3 separate regions of the Homo sapiens genome follow, and regions 2 and 3 are each linked to region 1. The links are contacts of gene promoters, found by promoter capture Hi-C in human tissues and cell types (Jung and others, 2019). All regions are on one chromosome and are shown on one strand. Each heading gives the region's core, a stretch centred on a gene start or on the middle of the fragment in contact. The rest is flanking DNA. Distances are from core to core; before and after follow the strand shown. Region 1 holds the start of GIPC1 (GIPC PDZ domain containing family member 1). Region 2 overlaps ZNF333 (zinc finger protein 333). Region 3 overlaps LINC01841 (long intergenic non-protein coding RNA 1841).

Region 1 (3,731 bases), core at 869-3,368:
GAGTGCAGTGGCACGATCTCAGCTCACTGCAACCTCCGCCTCCCGGGTTCAAGCGATTCTCCTGCCTCAGCCTCCTGAGTAGCTGGGCTTACAGGCGTGCGCCACCACACCCAGCTAATTTTCATATTTTTAGGAGAGAGGGGGTTTCACCATGTTGATCAGGCTGGTCTCAAACTCCTGACCTCTTGACCCACCTGTCTCAGCCTCCCAAAGTGCTGGGATTACAGGGGTGAGCCATGCCCCTAGCCAATTTTTGTATTTTTAGTAGAGACAGGGTTTCCCCATGTTGGCCAGGCTGGTCTCAAACTCCTGACCTCAAGCAACCCACCCGCCTCGGCCTCCCAAAGTGCTGGGATTACAGGCGTGAGCCACCGCGCCCGGGCCCCCTTGCCTGATCTTTGCTGGGCTGGCACCCCTTGCCCACAACTACTCTCTACAGTACCACCCGCTCATATTTTATTCATAGCAGTTAGTGCCATCTGAAATTATCTTCTTTATTTACTTGCTAACTTGTTTGTTGGCTGCTTCCTTCCTTTCAGAGTGCCAACTCCTCAAAAGTAGGGATTTTGTTTTGTTCACTGTTGCATTTTCTGTGCCAAGAACAGTGCCTAGCACATGCACGTAGCAGGTGCTCACTAAATATTTGTAGACTGAGTGAATGAATGTGTCTCAGGTCCTCGTTCTGATTGCTCTCTGTGCTCCCCATCCTTGAAACAGCCCCCTAAACATGCCTGCTGTGCGGTTGCCAACTGTCCTAGGCTCCCCACTTTCCCTGGCTCCCCTCACACCTGAACACAGAGATGAAGAGCCACTTCAGCCCGGATATTGAGTGTTTGGGCTGGAATTTCAGCATCCTCACCCCCTCATCCTGGGAAGGGCCTGAAACTTAGCAACCCCACGGCCACACAGAAGCAGTGTGGCCAGCAGGAGGAGGGGAAGGGGGTTCCTGGGAGCACACAGAAGCTAGGGGAAGGGGGAAACCACGCCCAGGCTCCCCGTTCCAGCACAGTGTTGCTTTGGAGAGAAGGAGGGAAAGAGGCCTCTGATTCACTCTTGAAAAACCGGCTCCTGGGTGTTTCCGGGGAGAACGCCTACTTCCCAGCCTCGGCCCAGGTTGCCAGGGGGGAACCCAGTGGGCCCAGACCCCAGCATCCTGGCCCCCTGCAGACGCCACTCTCTTCTCTGGACCCAGGTAGTTAGACCTGCCCTCTCCAGCTCTGGGGAGAAGGGAAAGGAGGGCAGCTTCCTGTTTGAGTGGCTGGTAAAGCAAAAGACCAGCAGGTGTGGCCCTGATGATGAGTACGGGGTAGGGGGTGGGAGGGGTAGGGGGCCGGAGCTACTCAGCAACAACTGAGCCGTGGAGTTATTGGTATCCAGTCTAGTGGGTGTGACTCCAGTTCTGGACCCTGGGGCATGAGTTCCAGTCCCAGATGTGCCAGTTACTAGCTGTGTGACCTTGGGCAAGTCACTCCACCTCTCTGGGTAGGCTGCCTCACCTTTTTTACAAGAAGGCACAGCACCTCCCATGAGGTGTTTAGAGTCAATTATCCTCATGGTAAATGCCTGACACGGAAGCTCTCCAATAAATGCTAGCTGAGGTGGAGTTTTTCATGACGATTATTATTCAGACCGTGGTCCTCACTGCGTCCCCCCCAAGGCCCTGGAGGGTTCAGACGCGGTTAGCTCAGGGGAAGTGCCCAGGAAAGGGTCAGAAACACTGACCCCGCGCCTGTCCACGCTGGGATGGGGACAGTCCAGCCGGGGGACGGGGGGAGGGGCAAGCCCAGAAACCCCAGCCCAGCGTTGGGAGGCGTTTGTCCCCTGCCCGCCAGCAGGAAGGGAGCTGCCCCCACCACCCCCCACCCCCGCTTCCCCTGGGAAGGGGCCTCCGGCATCCCCGCGCGCAGCCTAGACCTCCAGTCGCGTCCACGGCGCCGGCCCCACCCTGCAGGATCGGCCGGATCCTCGCAGGCCCGCGACCCCCGAGGCCCCCGGAGCAGACACATCCTTCTCGCAGAGGCCACTCACCTGCTCCGCCGCCGCCGCCGCCGCCGCCGCCGCCGCCGCTGCCTCCGCCTCCCCGTGCGCACCCGGCTCGGCCCTCCGCAAACTCCAGACCGGGCCTCTCCCGCAGCGGCGCCTGGGGGGCGGGGCCGACGCCCGCGGCCGGCCAATCAGCGGCTGCCTCTCGGTGCTCGCAGCCAATCCGCGTCTTCCGCTTCGGGTGGACCCGACGGAAACATTCCAGAGGGATCCCTCCGCCTCGCCCGGCTCTTCCCGACTCCTCCCCTCGCCGCGAAGCAGTGGACCGTTCCGCCCCGCCTAAGCCGCGGCTGGCTGTACCACCGGAGGGCTGAGGAGGGGGGGGAGCTGCAGCTGGGCCCCGGCCAATCGCGAGGGAGGAAGGAGACAAGCGGCCAATGGGAAGGAAGCTGGGGCCCCTGAACCACGTGCTGTCGGCTGAGTGTCAGTCTCGGGTGCCCTGGGTGGTGAGGGGCGGGGGAGTCAGGTGACCTAGGCCAGGTTTCGGGGAAAGGATTCGAACTTCCGACGTCCAGGAAAGCGGACAGTTTAGGAGACCTGGGTGGGGGTCAATGGCAGTCCCCAACCCAGTTCCCTGCCCGGCCTCCTCTGCCCCAGCCTGGCCATCCTCGGAGCGGATAAAAAGATGCATTCAATCTCTGGGGGCGGGCGGGGGATCGAGATGAATAGGGAGGGTCCCGAGTTTCCCTGCTTCCTGGGCTGTACAATGGACAAAGGCATTCATTCATTCATTCGTTCACTCACTCATCAAATATTTAATGTGCCAGACTGCTCCGTGCCAGACTCTGTCCTACCTCTGAAGACGCGTCAGTGAATAAGCTGAATGTGCTCCTGGTAGAGGTAACAGAGCGTGCAAAAGCCGGACAGAGAGATACAGCACGCTTTAGGATACTGCAATATCGTGGGAGCTAGTAAATCAGTGTGGAAAGGCAAGATGCAATGAAAGACAAGGGTGAGATAGTTTATCTGCTTGTTGGTTTGTTTATGTGCTAGGTCACAGAAGGTACCCAGCCAGCCTTTCATAGATCTGTCTCCTCCATCTGACTGTGAGGGTGGAGGCTGAGTCTCTCTTGTCAACCCCTCACTCCCACCTCAGGCTGCCACACGGCAGGTTCTCAGCAAACCTGTGTGGACAAATAGACCATGTAGTTTATAAGGAAGGGGGATTTATCAGGTGGACACAGATCCAAGAAACAAGAGTCACAAATGCACCTGGACCAGGCCAGGACGCTCAGTTCCCGGGACAAGTGAGATTTCCTTGTTCTAGTTCAAACCCAGCCACTTGGACAGCAACTGGGGCTGAATGCTGTGTGTTCTGGGAACTGTAGTTCCTGGAAGCCTCTAAGTGCTGAGACCCTGCTCAAGCTCCATAGAAAGACTGGTTCTTTGCAGTTCCCAGGGTGAGATGTTGTGCATATCAGTCCCACCAGGACCTGCAGAGGGGCAAACTAAAATGGGAGATGGAACCTTGAGCTTTGCTGCTGAGGATTGCCTAGCCAGCCCCACCCAGCTGGCAAACACCGAGATTGCTGTGGCAGGCCAGGCAACAGGCACAGCTATTGTCCGTCCCTTCCTGTTCTGCTGACCTCTGCCATCCCACTGAGCAATCAGTTGCCTGGGCTGGCCAGTACCCTCTGTGGGACTGTGCTGCCTGCCCTGCTTGAGCCTGGCATCTAAGCTGCCCCCTG
Region 2 (3,731 bases), core at 655-3,154, 200 kb after region 1:
CATGGTGAGGAAACTGGGGGCTCCTGTGGCTGAAGGGGTGGATATGTAGGATAACTATGTCCTCTGGGCCCTGTCTTCTCTCTCGCCACTTCCGTCCCCAACTGAGGAAGAAAGGGAAGGGTGAGTGAGGAGCATCCTCATCCCTGCCCTAGGGGACCTAGGGACTTCCTTCTGTGCCTGACCTCTAGAGGTGGCATGGAAGAAGAGTCCCACAGCAGACCCTGGGGCTCTGAGCGGAGCTCCTCCAGGGCCATCCTTGTCATCCCTGGTGAGACCTATTGAAAACACATGTGGCCATAGAAATATAAATTCAGCTTAAATTAATTAAGATTCAGTACATTTAGCCGGGCATGGTTGTGTGTGCCTGGAATCGCAGCTACTTGGGAGGTTGAGGTGGGAGGATAGCTTGAGCCCAGGAGATTGAGGCTGCATTGAGCTAGGATTGTGACCCTGCACTCCAGCCTAAGCTACAGAGTAAAACCTTGTCTCTAAAAAAAAAAAAAAAAAAAAAAAAATTAAAAAGTTTAAGCGCTCAGTTTCTCAGTCGCCCCAGTCACATTGCCCAAGTGCTCAACAGCCACATGTGCTGGTAGCCCCTTTCTGGAAAGCACAGGCATGGAACATTCCCATCATCAGAGAGTGATGTCTGTTGGACAGCACTGCTCTGAAGAATTCTGCAATTAAAAGGATTCTCAGATGAGGCCGGGCGTGGTGGCTCATGCCTGTAATCCCAGCACTTTGGGAGGCCGAGGCGGGCAGATCACTTGAGGCTGGGAGTTCAAGACCAGCCTGGCCAACATGGTGAAACTCTGTCTCTACTAAAAATACAAAAAGTTAGCTGGGTGTGTGGCACGTGCCTGTAATCCCAGCTACTTGGGAGGCTGAGGTAGGAAAATCGCTTGAACCCAGGAGGTGAAGGTTGCAGTGAGCCGAGATGGCGCCACTGCACTCCAGCCTGGACGACAGAGCAAGACTGTCTCAAAAAAAAAAAAGAAAAAAAGAAAAAGACTCTCAGATGCAATGGAAGTCCTACTTTCACAAGTATATAATTAAGGACGTAAGTCTTGGGGGATCCCAGGGACTTCACAGAAATTAAGCTTTCAATCCCAAATTTGTGATGCTGTGCCAATTTGTAATAAGGAGTTTAGGAAAAACTCTCTAAGCAGGGAGGGACAGGCTCTGCCATCACAAGTCAGTGGAGTTACACAGAGAGCCATAACTTTACACTTTAGGATTTATCCAAATGTTAAAAGAAAGTAAACATTTCAGCTTGGTGGCCCATGTGATCTCTGTCACAACTATTCAGTTCTGCCGTTGTGGCCTCAAAACAGCCATTGATGCATTGTAAATAAATGCACGTGGCTGTGTGCCAAGAAAACATTATTTACAAAAATAGGCTTTAGGCTGGATTTTCCATGCCTGCTGTGTCTGAACATTTTCTCTTCTCCAGTGATAACCAGTCGTTCTGCTCAGTGGTGGGGGTGGTATTTGCCGAGCCAGAATGTGTGTGCTGTTTTAGGAATCCGTCACCTTTGAGGATGTGGCCGTGGAGTTCATCCAGGAGTGGGCATTGCTGGACAGCGCACGGAGGAGCCTGTGCAAATACAGGATGCTTGACCAGTGCAGGACCCTGGCCTCCAGGGGTAAGGCTGGCGTCACCTGGCTCCTTCCTGTACGCAGGCACTAAATGCTTCTTAAGCGCCTGCCATGTGAAGAAGACAGACGTGGCTTAGGCTTTGTGGCACTTAGCGTCCACAGGATGACAAAGCTTCATCTGTTGCATTGACTTCTTTCCCTCTGTAGTAAGGCCCTGTTTGGGTCTCCTTGAATTTGGCCCCAGGCTTCTGAGGTGAGACAGCCTCAGCCCCTTGGGGCAGAGGGGAGGGTGTTTGTGGGTTGGGTCCTGAGTTCATTAGCTATTGGGCAAGATCCCTTTGCTACCCATCACACTTGCTCAGCCCAGAGAATCTGAAGCCCATATTGAAGCTGAAGGAGAGTTTGAGTTGAGAAACAAGAGTTTGTTTTCCCCTGCAAGCCCTCTCTCTCTCAGTGCCTGTGTCTTTCTTCATGTGCAGGAACTCCACCATGCAAACCCAGTTGTGTCTCCCAGCTGGGGCAAAGAGCAGAGCCAAAGGCAACAGAACGAGGGATTCTCCGTGCCACAGGTGTTGGTGAGTACCAGGCAGGCTGTGGATCCCCCGACCCCCCTGGTTGGGTGGTGTGCCTTGGGAAGTGTCAAGAGCATTTTCAAAGGCCCTTTGTTCTGAGGGGACATCGAAGGCCATTCGGAGTGAGGTTTCTCAAGTTCCTTTAGCTTCTCTTCTATTTTCACTTTCTAGCCCTCCTCTCCTACTTTCCTTTGGTTTCAGAAAAAGATTTGTTCTAATTTCTCTTAAAAAATTAGAGGGCCAGGTGTGGTGGCTCTTGCATGTAATCCCAGCACTTTGGGAGGCCGAGGCTGGTGGATCACCTGAGGTCAGGAGTTCGAGACCAGCCTGGCCAACATGGCAAAACCCCATCTCTACCAAAAATTAGCCGGATGTGATGGTGCACACCTGTAATCCCAGCTACTTGGGAGGCTGAGGCATGAGAATTGCTTGAACCTGGGAGGTAGAAGTTGCAGTGAGCCAAGATTGCATCACTGCACTCCAGCCTGGGGGATAGAGCGAGACTCTGTCTCCAAAAAACAAAACAAAGCAAAAATTAGAGCTATAAGTCACACACCATGAAATTCACCCCTTTAAAGTGTGCAGTTCAGTGGTTCACAACCTTGTGTAAACATCACCACTACCCAATTCCAGAACATTTTCATCACGCCAAGTAGAAACCCTGTCCCCATGGGCAGTTACTCCCCATTACCCCTCCCTCAGCCCCTGGCAGCCACTAATCTGCTTTCTGTCTCTATGGATTGTCCTATATAGACATTTGTATATGGAAATCGTATCATAAGTAGCCTTTGGTATCCGGCTTAGTATAATAGTTTTGTGTTGCAAGTAAGTTAGACTGGGTAGTTTATAAACAATAGAAGTTTATTTGACTCCTGGTTCTGGAGGCTGGGAAGTCTAAGGCTGAGGGGCTGCATCTGGTAAGGGCCTTCTTGCAGCATCATAACATGGTGGACGAGATCATGTTGCAAGAGAACAAGAGAGGCCCAGACTGGTTTTTACAGCAAGGCCACTCTTGAGATAACTAACCCCCTTCTGAAGTAATCACAGGGCAGATTCCTCGTGACCTAATCACCTTTTTTTTTTTTTTTTTTTTTTTTTGGGACAGAGTCTCGCCCTGTCACCCAGGCTGGAGTGCAGTGGTACGATCTCGGCTCACTGCAACCTCTGCGTCCTGGGTTCAAGCGATTCTCCTGCCTGAGTCTCCTGAGTAGCTGGGACTACAGGTGCACACCACCACACCCGGCTAATTTTTGTATTTTTAGTAGAGATGGGGTTTCACTGTGTTGGTCAGGCTGGTCGAGAACTCCTCATCTCGTGGTCCACCCACCTCAGCCTCACAAAATGCTGGGATTACAGGCGTGAGCCATTGTGCCCGGCCACCTAATCACCTTTTAAAGTTCCAGCTCTCAATACTGTTGTATGGGAATTGCTTCCAACCCATGAACTGTGGAGGACACACTTAAACTACAGCAGTATCTGTCTTCTTTCACTTAGCTTTATGTTTTCCAGATCCATCCATGTTGTAGCATGAATCAGAACTTAATTCCTTTTTTAAGGCTGAAT
Region 3 (3,731 bases), core at 557-3,056, 160 kb before region 1:
ATGAGAGGCCCATTTTACTGATGAGAAAATCTGGGAACCGTAACAATAAACCATATGACTTAGGTCACACAGCTTGAAGGTGGTGAAGCCAGAATTCGAACCCTGGCTGTCTGATTCCAGAGCTCTTAACCACCCTGTGTTAGTTATTCTTTTCTTTTCTTTTCTTTTTTTGAGACGAAGTCTTGCTCTTGTCCCCCAGGCTGGAGTGCAATGGTACAATATCGGCTCACTGCAACCTCTGCCTCCCAGGTTCAAGCAATTCTCCTGCCTCAGCCTCCCGAGTAGCTGGGATTACAGGCGCCTGCCACCACGCCCGGCTGATTTTTGTATTTTTAGTAGAGACGGCGTTTCACCATGTTGGCCAACCTGGTCTCGAACTCCTGACCTCAGGTGATCTGCCCGCCTCAGCCTCCCAAAGTGCTGGGATTACAGGCGTGAGCCACCGTGCCCAGCCTATTCTTTATAGTTCTCCACCTATTTGACTGATTATATCCCTGACATAAATTCCTAGAGGTGGATTTGCTGGGTCAGAGAATCCACATGCTTAAAGGTTTAATACTAATATCTAGAACACCATCCCAAGAAAGTTGTATCGTGGCCGGGTGCGGTGGCTGACATCTGTAATCCTAGCACTTTGGGTGGCCGAGGAGGGAGGATCACTTGAGATCAGGAGTTTGAGACCAGCCTGGGCAAGTCGTGAGACCCCATGTTACAAAAAGTTTTTAAAAAATTAGCTGGGTGTGGTGACCTGTACCTGTAGTCAGCTATTTGGCAGGCTGAGGTGGGAGGATTCCTTAAGCCTAGGAGGTTGAGGCTGCAGTGAGCCGTGATTGTGCCACTGCACTCCAGCATGGGTGACATAGTGAGACCCTGTCTCAAAAAATTAAAAAAAAAAAAGTTGTGTCAATTTAAACTCCCATGACCGTGCTCAAGTGTGCATTCCCAAAACTTCACACACACTCATAAGCTTGACAAGGAAAAGTGATTCTTCAGCTGAACGGTCAGATTGAGCATCTTTACAGAGGTTTGTTAAGCTCTCACTCCTTTGTGAACCCCCTATTCAAGCCCTGTGCCAATTTCACATTTGGGATGTTTGTCTTTTTTTTCTTATTGATTCATATGTGCTTTTTGTATATTAAGGCTCTTAATGATTTGTCTGCCATATACGTGGCAAACAATCTAATCTCCCTTGATCTTTTCTTTTCCTTTTTTTTCTTGAGATAGAGCCTCACTCCGTTGCCCAGGCTGGAATGCAGTGGCACCATAATAGCTCACCGCAATCACTGCAGCATCAACCTCCTGGGCTCAAGCCATCCTCCTGCCTCAGCCTCCTGAGTAGCTGGGACCACAGGTGTGTGCCACCATGCCCAGATAAATTTTTAAAAATTATTTTTGTAGGGATGGGGTCTCACTATGTTGCCCAGGCTGGCTATCTCCTCTGATCTGGGACTCCAGCTAGATCTCCTTTTATTGCCCAACTGGCCTCAATGAACATTTCTCTTCTGTCTAGGCCTCATTGCAGGTTGCATTTTATTGGCGGTTCCTCCAGAAACAAAAGCAGAGACTTTGAGATCTTATGAACCTCAGTCTTACCCAGAACACTTGAAGAACCCTTCAGCTTTCCATGGCAAGAAAGCTCAGGCCCTGGGGCCAGAAGCCACGGCTTTGTGTCTGGGTTCTGTAGTTTACTGCTATGGCTCCAGTTTCTGATTCCTCCAAGTTAAGATGGGTTGGTAAATTCTGCCACGCAGAATGCGCTTCTAGCCACGCCCACTGTGTATCAAACCATGCCCACTGTACATAAACCACGCCCTCTCATCTAGCTACGCCCACCAATCGTCTAGCCACGCCCACCTTCGAGTGGAGAGGTGTGATTAGAGCATTAAAGAGAGAGGCGTGATTAGAGCATTAAAAAGAAGTGAAGAACCGAAATAGTGAGGATCCTGGGCCAGGGGGAGGAGGAGGGAGAAGATCCCCTGGCCTCGATGGCTGGCAATTCCTTCATGCCCCTAGCACCCACCTGGTTAAAGAAAGGATAGCTGGGCGCAATGACTCACTCCTGTAATCCCAGCACTTTGGGAGGCCGAGGCAGGCAAATCTTGAACTTGAGGCCAGGAGTTCAAGACCAGCCTGATCAACATGGCAAAACCCCATCTCTACTAAAAATACAAAAATCAGCCGGTGTGGTCGTGTATGCCTGTAATCCCAGCTACTCAAGAGGCTGAGGCACGAGAATCGCTTGAACTCAGCAGGCGAAGGTTGCAGTGAGCCGAGATCACACCACTTCACTCCAGCCTGGGCAACAAAGCAAGACTGTCTCAAAAAAAAAAAAAAAAAAAGAAAAGAAAAGAAAAGAAAAAAGAAAAAGAAAATAAAAAAAAGAAAGAAGGAGGCACCTGGCTACTGTATTCCACCTTTCTCCTCACCCACTCTTTTTTTTTTTTTTTTTTTTGAGACGGAGTCCTTCTCTGTCATCCAGGCTGGAGTACAGTGGCACCATCTCGGCTCACTGCAACCTCCGCCTCCTGAGTTCAAGCTATTCTCCTGCCTCAGCCTCCCAAGTAGCTGGGACTACAAACACGCACCACTACCTCCGGCTAATTTTTGTATTTTTAGTAGAGATGGGGTTTTGCCATGTTTTTCAGGCTAGTCTTGAACTCCTGACCTCAAGTGGTCCGCCCGCCTCAGCCTCCCAAAGTGCTGGGATTACAGGTGTGAGCCACCACGCCCGGCCCTCACCCGCTCTTTAAAATATCCCTACCAGGGTCAATGGTTTATCTGTGCCTCAGTGTTCCCATCTGTAAAATGAGGATAATTTTAAGGATTACCTGAGTTAGCATCTGTGAAGGGGTTAGAATGGTACCTGGCACATAGTAGGCACTCAATAAATGGCATCACTGATATGGTTCCACGGATGGTTGTATTATTAATAGGAATAAAGTGTGGGATGGAAAAACGTTGCTCTGGGCACCTGGAACCAGCCCCAGGGGCACGTGGGGCTCTACACAGGCTCTTTACCCCATGCCAGCGGGAGGACACTTTGGGGGGAAACTGAGGCACTGACAATCCCCTGCCTTCCCAGCCCTGAGTCCTTCTCACCCATGCCCAGAGCCTCAGAGGCCAGCAAGGTGCCCCAAGGGAAAGCGACACTTCTGAACTGCGCTGCCTGGCACAATTACCGTTTTCATCCTCATTAAACTACATTTTCATTCTAATTAGAGTTTCACCGCCTCCCAGAGAGAAGGGCCGATTACTTTTCAGCATCATTAACACTGGCTCCCTCCCCACTTTCCTCCTCCCCTGCCCAGGCTCCCACTACACCAGGGCATTCTCTCTCTCTCTCTCCTTCACCCCATGGACCAGAGAGAAGCAACAGAACATTTATTGTCGCCTACTGGGTGCCAAGTTGGATGCTAGGAACCTTCCCCCACAGCCTCTTCGCCTTATCTTGGGCTGGTCTAATTTTCTTTTTGTCCCCAACACTTACCCCTTTTTGTTTTTGTTTTGTTTTGTTTTGTTTTGTTTTGTTGAGACAGGGTCTTACTCTGTCGCCCAGGCTGGGGTGCAGGTGCGTGATCTCGGCTCACTGCAACCTCCGCCTCCCGGATTCAATCGATTCTCCCACCTCAGCCTCCTGAGTAGCTGGGATTACAGGTGCACACCACCACCTGGCTAATTTTTGTATTTTTTTTTAGTAGAGAGGGAGTTTCACCAGGTTGGCCAGGCTGGTC

The links. Contacts are between HindIII fragments. The study calls those that stand out against the background at their distance.
Region 2: a contact is called between a fragment that was not itself captured here and the fragment with the promoter of GIPC1 in region 1, in 2 of the 25 tissues and cell types used here (dorsolateral prefrontal cortex and lymphoblastoid cells).
Region 3: a fragment that was not itself captured here is called in contact with the fragment with the promoter of GIPC1 in region 1 in 3 of the 25 tissues and cell types used here (liver, lymphoblastoid cells and spleen).

Annotation. Positions count from the first base shown.
Region 1 is chr19:14,494,009-14,497,739 of GRCh38, forward strand. It overlaps GIPC1 (GIPC PDZ domain containing family member 1), which reads right to left and starts at 2,119. Exons shown (of 9, transcript NM_005716.4): 1 at 2,029-2,119. RefSeq lists enhancers at 1,434-2,360, 3,641-3,731 and silencers at 2,023-2,252, 2,393-2,452. The HindIII fragment of the contact is 12,252 bases long and covers 1-3,731 here.
Region 2 is chr19:14,693,491-14,697,221 of GRCh38, forward strand. ZNF333 (zinc finger protein 333) reads left to right here. Exons shown (of 12, transcript NM_032433.4): 2 at 1-4; 3 at 1,520-1,643; 4 at 2,076-2,171. The coding sequence starts at 2. Among named protein-coding and RNA genes, the nearest start is that of ZNF333, 5.3 kb to the left of the region's middle. The HindIII fragment of the contact is 5,396 bases long and covers 1-3,731 here.
Region 3 is chr19:14,335,864-14,339,594 of GRCh38, forward strand. The region is part of intron 1 of LINC01841 (long intergenic non-protein coding RNA 1841); the gene reads right to left. The region is part of intron 1 of LINC01842 (long intergenic non-protein coding RNA 1842); the gene reads left to right. Among named protein-coding and RNA genes, the nearest start is that of LINC01842, 4.0 kb to the left of the region's middle. RefSeq lists a silencer at 1,720-1,920 and enhancers at 2,617-3,117, 3,118-3,618. The HindIII fragment of the contact is 5,959 bases long and covers 1-3,731 here.